Linked DNA regions of Homo sapiens: regions 1 and 3 are each linked to region 2. The links are contacts of gene promoters, found by promoter capture Hi-C in blood cells and fetal thymus (Javierre and others, 2016). All regions are on one chromosome and are shown on one strand. The core of a region is centred on a gene start or on the middle of the fragment in contact, and the rest is flanking DNA. Distances in the headings are between cores, read along the strand shown. Region 1 overlaps SPIN1 (spindlin 1). Region 2 holds the start of TUT7 (terminal uridylyl transferase 7). Region 3 holds the start of HNRNPK-AS1 (HNRNPK antisense RNA 1).

The links. The method cuts DNA at HindIII sites, captures the fragments that hold promoters and counts their contacts. A CHiCAGO score of 5 or more calls a contact.
Region 1: a contact is called between a fragment that was not itself captured here and the fragment with the promoter of TUT7 in region 2, in 1 of 17 cell types (total B cells). The highest score is 5.9, in total B cells.
Region 3: a contact is called between the fragment with the promoter of HNRNPK-AS1 here and the fragment with the promoter of TUT7 in region 2, in 2 of 17 cell types (neutrophils and activated CD4 T cells). The highest score is 7.2, in neutrophils.

The regions. Positions count from the first base shown.
Region 1 is chr9:88,394,317-88,397,016 of GRCh38, reverse strand. All of the region lies in intron 1 of SPIN1 (spindlin 1), which reads right to left. Among named protein-coding and RNA genes, the nearest start is that of SPIN1, 7.2 kb to the right of the region's middle. RefSeq lists a silencer at 751-975 and enhancers at 619-1,119, 1,120-1,620. The HindIII fragment of the contact is 2,924 bases long and covers 1-2,700 here.
Region 2 is chr9:86,353,010-86,355,709 of GRCh38, reverse strand. It overlaps TUT7 (terminal uridylyl transferase 7), which reads left to right and starts at 1,300. Exons shown (of 27, transcript NM_024617.4): 1 at 1,300-1,439; 2 at 2,480-2,700. The coding sequence starts at 2,511. RefSeq lists a silencer at 1,042-1,221 and an enhancer at 1,242-1,451. The HindIII fragment of the contact is 6,298 bases long and covers 1-2,700 here.
Region 3 is chr9:83,970,845-83,973,544 of GRCh38, reverse strand. HNRNPK-AS1 (HNRNPK antisense RNA 1) reads right to left here and starts at 1,450. Exons shown (of 2, transcript NR_186535.1): 1 at 1,268-1,450. HNRNPK (heterogeneous nuclear ribonucleoprotein K) reads left to right here. Exons shown (of 17, transcript NM_031263.4): 9 at 146-259; 10 at 573-701; 11 at 1,356-1,663; 12 at 1,819-1,873; 13 at 2,189-2,272; 14 at 2,633-2,648. The HindIII fragment of the contact is 2,844 bases long and covers 596-2,700 here.

The DNA.
Region 1 (2,700 bases), core at 42-2,541, 2.0 Mb before region 2:
CCAGTCCTGACAGCTCCATTCATGGTTCAGTGCCCTACACAGGCATGCCATTTCTCTTTTATACCACATTTCTACTGTACTTTCTCTGTCCTTAGATATGTTTAGATAAATAAATACCTACACAGCACTGTGTTCCAATAGTCTACAGTATTCAGTTCAGTCATATGCTGTACAGGTTTGTAGCCTAGGAGCATTAAGCCATATTACATAGCCTAGGTGCCTAGTAGGTTGTCCCATATAGGTTTGTGTAAGTATACTCTATGAGGTACACAACGAGGTTCTCTGAATGTATCCCATTGTTAAGGGATGTAAAGCTATATGTACACCAACTATATGTGTACCCTTGAGGCTACATTATAAACTTTTGTCCTTAAGGCACTGGAAAGCCATTTAGAGTTTTTCTGTTTTGTTTTCTGAGACGGAGTCTCACTCTGTTGCCCAGTCTGGAGTGCAGGGGTGTGATCTCAGCTCACTGCAGCCTCCGCCTCCCAGGTTCAAGCAATTCTCCTGCCTCAGCCTCCTGAGTAGCTGGGATTACAGGCATGCGCCACCACACCTGGCTAATTTTTGTATTTTTAGTAGAGACGGGGTTTCACCATGTTGGCCAGGCTGGCCTCAAACTCCCAGCTTCAGGTAATCCGCCCACCTCAGCCTCCCAAAGTGCTGGGAGTACAGTACAGGTGTGAGCCACCGCACCCACCTGGCCACCATTTAGAGTTTTAAGTAAAAAGCTGACATGGTCAGATCTGCCTTTTAAAAATGTAATTTTTTTTTTTTTGAGATGGAGTCTCACTCTGTCACCCAGGCTGAAGTGCAATGGCGCGATCTCAGCTCACTGCAACCTCCACCTCCCAAGTTCAAGTGACTCTCATGAGGAGTAGCTGGGATTACAGGCGCAGGCCACCATGCCTGGCCAATTTTTGTATTCTTAGTAGAGACGGGTTTTTTTGTTGTTGTTGCTGTTGTTTTTGAGACGGAGTCTCCCTCTGTCACCCAGGCTGGAGTGCAGTGGCGCAATCTCAGCTCACTGCAGTCTCTGCCTCCCAGGTTCAAGTGATTCTCTTGCCTCAGCCTCCCGAGTAGCTGGGATTACAGGCACGCGCCACCACGCCAGGCTAATTTTTGTATTTTTAGCAGAGATGGGGTTTCACCACGTTGGTCAGGCTGTTCTTGAACTCCTGACCTCATGATCGGCCCACCTCAGCCTCCCAAAGTGCTGGGATTACAGGTGTGAGCCATCACACTGAGCCTGAAAATGTAATTTTTTTAGGCTGTATTGATGCCTGACGCCTGTAATCCCAAGTTTTTTGGGAAGCCCAGGTAAAAGAACTGCTTGGGGTCAGGAGTTCAAGATCATCCTGGGCAACACTGTGAGACCTCATCTCTACAAAAAATTAAAAAGTTTTAAAAAGAAAATGTAACATTTTGACACTAACAAAACTACAAATGTGTTTACCTTTCACCCCACATCTATCTTAAAGCTGTATCTGCACAAATAAAAAACAATATACCCACAAGGTTATTCATTGCCGCAATATTTATAACAGCCAAGAGAATATAAACAACCCAAATGTTCATCATTAGGAGATGAGTTGCAAGCACGCACTTCAATGAAGCGCTCTCCAGAATAAATTAAGTAAAAGGGAGCAGTGTGCATAGAACGGCAGAGCAGTGTGCATAGAACGCTGCCTATTGTGTAGGAAAGGGAAACAAAAATATACACATATGCTTACATTTGCAAAAATGAAATATCAGAAAAACAAAGCAAAAACAACTGGGGCAAGAGAGAAATTCGTGGAGGAACAGAATTAAAGTGAAGCTGTGAACATAACTTTTTAACACAGATCAGATTTTTTAACTACATAAATGTTCACATAAATGTTCTACATGTTAAAAAATACATTAAATAGGCCAGGCGCGGTGGCTCACGCCTGTAATCCCAGCACTTTGGCAGGCCGAGGCGGACAGATCACGAGGTCAGGAGATCGAGACCATCTTGGCTAACATAGTGAAACCCCGTCTCTACTAAAAATACAAAAATTAGCCGGGCGTGGTGGCGGGCACCTGTAGTCCCAGCTACTCAGGAGGCTGAGGCAGGAGAATGGCGTGAACCCGGGAGGCGGAGCTTGCAGTGAGCCGAGATCGCACCACTGGACTCCAGCCTGGGCGACAGAGCGAGACTCTGTCTCAAAAAAAAAAAAAAAAAAATACATTAAATAAAAAACTAAAGCAATTCTTAAAGGAAGAATTTCAGGCAAACAACCCAAATTAATTATCAAACATATAACATAATCAGAGAAAATCTTTTCAAATGGCCTTCCAAATTAGAATGTCAACTGTACATGCTTATGTGGATATATTTTAAGGAAAAAACCATAACCAAACATAAAGCTACAGTTGCTTATTAGTGTTATTTTCAAACTACATTTATACTGTAAGATAATGCAATTATATTAATGTTGCTAAGAATGTAAATTTTCAACGTTAGAGAAAAAAGGATAAGCTCATAGTAAAAACTCTGTGATGTTAAATTCGAACTGGAAATACCAATATAAAAATCAAAATCTGTATGCTTCCCATGGCTGTCCAATAAAAGCATGGGCATTCTAACAGTAAGAACATATAACACCCAGATTTCTGTATCTAAATTCTAATCCTCAATAAAGCAAGCTGAAAGACTCGGTTGATAGGTATTTGGCA
Region 2 (2,700 bases), core at 51-2,550:
CTTTAAAAGTGGGATAATGATATAGTCTTCATGAAGCTGTGAGGATTAAAGAAGTTAAGGCTGGGTATGGTGGACCACCCCTGTAATCCCAACACTTTGGGAGGCCAAGTTGGGCGGATGGCTTGAGGTCAGGAATTGGAGAGCAGCCTGGGCAACATAGGAGACCCCTGTCTCTACAAAAATATAAAACAAAGGAGTTAATATTTGTAAAGCCTTCAAAACAGTTATTGGCATAGCCAGAACTTTGTGTGTTATTATTTTAAGACCATTGCTCCACAGGACCTGACAGCTTTCAATTTACATGCTTTAAAAAAGCAGAGAAATGAAAACTGTCGATTTTCCCAACGCTCCCTAATTTCACTAGTTGCTTGATGTTTTTCAAAGCATTTAGAACACTGTAAACAGCAAGGAAGGTCATACAGTAAAGAAAGAAAAAGCAACCCCGAGTTCGAGGTGTGCACTCTTCAACTCAAAAATTCGAATGTAACGCTCTCTGGTCATCCCTTGCCATTACACATATTCTTCGAAATGAACTGATTTTTTTTTTTTCCAAGTAAAAGTAATCCTTACACAACCTAAGAAAAAAGCAGAGCATTTTCCTTGACCACTTTGAGATCTGGGTGAGCAGTGGATGTTTAAATGCTGGCATTTCTACAAGGTCGGCAATTAAGAATTCACGAAAACATTAATCACTACGAATTATCAGAAAAACACCAAGAGCGCTACGAGGCCTCGGAGCCTTTACTCCCCCTGGAAGTAACCGGGGAGCACCCAGGGGCAAAGCCGAGGCCCCAAGCGCGGGGAATGCGGCTTTGCCCGACCGCTGGCTCCGCGTCCCTCTCCGGGTGCATAAGTCTTGGCTCCCGCGCCTCTCCCGAGCACTTAGCCTCCCGAGCAGAGAGGGGAACCAGAGGAGCGTCGAAGCCGGGAGAGAAAAGGGGCGGGCGCCGCTCTGGTAAGAAGTTCGGGCCTGGCCCCCAAGCGCCGGCGAACCGGCTATCCGGCGAGCCAGTAATTAGCCCGCTCCGACGGTTGCGCCCGGTGGCCAGACCCGGCGCCCGACACCTGGAGCGAGTGCGCTGGGGCGCCGGACAGGAGAGGCCAGGCTGGCAAAGGCGCGGGAGGCGGGGTCGGAGCGTGGGCGGGGCACCGCGGGGCGGGGCGCGTCGCTCGTTTCCGGTGTGCGCGGCGGAGCGCTAGGGCGGGGGCACAGTCGGCTCCCAATCGCGCACAATGAGACAGCGCTGAGCGCCGGAAGTGGGGCCGAAGGAAAACACGGAGAGGGAGCCCGGCCGGGACAGGAAGAGGCTGGGGACCGCGGCGAAGGTGGTGAGTGCTCTTGGGCGCCTTCTCCCAACGTCCCTGCCAGACTCGCCTCCGGGCTGATTCTCCAGTTGGTTTCCTGGACTCCAGAGTAGCTGTCCGGCCTGGCCCCGGAGGTACGTTGGTTCCATCCCCCGCCGGCCTCCTCGCACCAGTTTGGGTGACCGAGGAACCCCCAGGCCGGCAGAGGCTGAGCCCTCGGGTTCGAGTCCGTGTTTTCACTTTTTGTCAGACTGCGGGCGCAGAAGACGGGATTTGGGTCAAGACATTCGGCTCTGGCCCCCTGGCCGGCCGGGGGAACCCTGGAACCCCATGGAGACAGCAGGTCACTTCCTGCTTCCTGGTCCCCACGGTGGCTTCTTGGCCAGGAGTGCAGGGACGCCTCCTCTTTCTCCACGTCGGGCTCAAAAGGGTGGAAACTAAGGCAGATCGGTGGTGGAGCGGTCAGATGGGGATTGAAGAGGAGTGTCATTCCTCAGGGAATTGCTGTTCCTGACAAAACCAAACTTGTTTGGGGTTGGAGAACGGGGATTGAGGAGGTTAGATGGAGTTGTCCCTTGATCGGAAACCCAGCCTCTTTAATTACAGCTGCACCTTGGTCGGAAGCCCAGCCCCTCCGTAACCTAAGCGCTCAAAGCCGGTCTGTCCAGAATAGGGGTGGTGAAGGGACGGAAAATTGGAGTTGAGAAATGTAGTACTCCTTTCACGTAAAGTTTCGGTGTATAACACTTACAAGTAATTGCCAACTTAAAAAACAAAAGACTGTTTCGGTAGTTTAGTAATAATATTGGCTTGGGATGAGGTTTTCTTTGAAGAGAAACGCCTTGTTACAGAGGGAAAAGCCGACCATACTTGATATGAGTAATATTCTACTATGCTACAGTTCTGGAACCTATAGAGCTTCTCTTATTCACACATTTAATCTTCATGCTAAATAGTAAGTATTAATTTTCATGAAGAATATTAGAGGACCAAGCCTCCCAACCTCTAGGGTAAAGCACTGATTATTAAGAATGTGATAGAATTTTTATTTTAAAAAAATAGGGAGTTTCTTTCTTACAGGCTTTGGGGCATCTGTACGATAAATTGTTATTTTGTATACTTGTATGATATCTTGTTATATAGTTTGATATTTCCCCAAAATACCTTCTTTCAGGTGCAAAGTAAGAAAATTGAAGTCAAAGACCATGGGAGATACAGCAAAACCTTATTTCGTGAAGCGCACTAAAGACCGGGGGACTATGGATGATGATGACTTCAGAAGGGGTCACCCCCAACAAGATTATTTAATAATAGATGACCATGCTAAAGGCCATGGCAGTAAAATGGAAAAGGGCCTTCAAAAAAAGAAGATAACACCAGGGAACTATGGGAATA
Region 3 (2,700 bases), core at 201-2,700, 2.4 Mb after region 2:
AATAAGCACATAACTGGTAAAGTTATTGAAATATAAATTCAGGTTGCTCACTGCAACAGTATATTATTGTTATGCTTATAGCAGATAAGTGTGTATTGGGGAATTGTTGATTTGAGACTAAAATTTTATAATTCTCCCTCCACAGTACCAACACTATAAAGGAAGTGACTTTGACTGCGAGTTGAGGCTGTTGATTCATCAGAGTCTAGCAGGAGGAATTATTGGGGTCAAAGGTGCTAAAATCAAAGAACTTCGAGAGGTAAAAAAAAAAAAATTCTGCCGTATTCTTTGCTGGAAAGTAAATTTTCATATAGACTTGTTTCTGTGAGCTTCTCTCGCTTCCCCTCTCAGTTCCCTCCAAAGATTGCTTATCGCAAATGACAAAAAATGTCTGGCACTGCTAGACATGTTATTTTGTCAAAATTTTTATACCATTGCAAAGCCCTGTGATAATTAATGAAGTTTTTATATTGTGGGGGGTTAATTGTTGAATTCAAATGCAATTTTCACTGAACCTAGGAAAGCTAATTTTCTTCTAATTATTATTATTTTTTTTTATGATCTTACTACAGAACACTCAAACCACCATCAAGCTTTTCCAGGAATGCTGTCCTCATTCCACTGACAGAGTTGTTCTTATTGGAGGAAAACCCGATAGGGTTGTAGAGTGCATAAAGATCATCCTTGATCTTATATCTGAGGTACTTCAGAACACTTTTTGTTTACATTTGATTTTATGAAACAAAGTGATAACCTTCTGCAAAAGTAGCTTCAGAGCATTTAGTCTAATAGTCTTTATTTGCCCTTTCCCTAGCAATTTTCTATCACCTGGCTTCAGCCATCACTTTAATTTAAAAATGGTTTTGAAAAAGTGGAGAGTGGTAATTTGTTGGTGGTATTTCTATAGCCTTTGAGCCTTTGAATGAATTTCCTATAGTGTTGCTTGTGTCTTTGTAACTATGCTGCAGGGCTTCCTATCTCAGGTGCCTCAGTATGGATTACAGGCTTGCCAAGACTGATCTCTTCAGCCCTTGTTGTGAAATGTGCATTGTAGTTTGTCATGTGTAAAATGGGAGGGCTTTGTGGTTTCTTACGATCTAAGTGTAAGAGCAAGCTATTACTTCTCCCTGTATAGGCAATAGAACTCACTTTTGTTTAGCATTTGCCAAAAGTATTGGATTTCTTTGGAATCTTTACTTTGCTACTTTTAGCGTTGACATAATTCCTGTTTCTGTCTCTAGTACCTCCTGATGGGGGAATGACTTACATTTTGTTTGATGATGATGTTAGAAGGATTGGTATGAAGCAGGACTCTTTTTCTTCAGTCTGTAAGTTTGTTCCATCTCTGTTTTTAGTCTCCCATCAAAGGACGTGCACAGCCTTATGATCCCAATTTTTACGATGAAACCTATGATTATGGTGGTTTTACAATGATGTTTGATGACCGTCGCGGACGCCCAGTGGGATTTCCCATGCGGGGAAGAGGTGGTTTTGACAGAATGCCTCCTGGTCGGGGTGGGCGTCCCATGCCTCCATCTAGAAGAGATTATGATGATATGAGCCCTCGTCGAGGACCACCTCCCCCTCCTCCCGGACGAGGCGGCCGGGGTGGTAGCAGAGCTCGGAATCTTCCTCTTCCTCCACCACCACCACCTAGAGGGGGGTAAGTTGTTTTTTTTGTTGTTGTTGTTTTTTCTTCCCCCATCTATGAATTATTAACCTGCAAGAGGCTGCACTTAGTGGTAGACAAGGTAGACTTTGATTTGATATGTGTGGCATGTAAGCACGTTTAGATTACAACAAGTACTATGCTTGCAGAGACCTCATGGCCTATGACAGAAGAGGGAGACCTGGAGACCGTTACGACGGCATGGTAAGAACTTTGGTTTATTACCAGTGTGTTGGGTATGTGAGGGTTGTCACAATGTAGTTCACGTTTTGTTGAAGGTTATAGTGATTAAAAAGTTTTTCTTACAAGTAAATTTTGTTTGGATTACTAGTTAAATAATTCTGTTATTTGCTGCTGGAGGATTACGACTTTATTGAGCTTTGTTCCCCTCGATTACAAAATTGCTGCCTATATATGTACCCTCTTTTGTTTTAATGTAACATGCAAATTAGGCATATTAAAAACAGCTCTATAACAAAATACAATGCGGGTTCATGTTAATGTTTTTATCTCTAACAGGTTGGTTTCAGTGCTGATGAAACTTGGGACTCTGCAATAGATACATGGAGCCCATCAGAATGGCAGATGGCTTATGAACCACAGGTTGAGTATCATAGTTGTTCGTGTGTATATCAGTGATAATTTAAGATGCTTACCTGCTCTCCAGTAAGTTTTTTATTCCCCTGAGGATACTTACTGAAAATAGGATACAGGAGGACTTTGGTTTCCTGAAGAGGGATTTTATGAGATTAAAATACTTGAATAGTGAAGCTGGGTGCAGTGGTGCTCACTCATAATCCCAACTACAAAAGAGTCTGAGGCAGGAGGATCACTTGAGCCCGAGAGTTTGAGACCAGCCTGGGCAACATAGCAAGACTCCATTTTATTAAATGAATTTTTTTAAAGTACCGGTAGTAATTACAACGGCAAAGTAATTTTCTATTTTTTTCTTTCTGTTTTTAGGGTGGCTCCGGATATGGTAAGTTCTCTCCTTTGTGAAGTCAAACATTAATTTCATACTTTTTAAATGA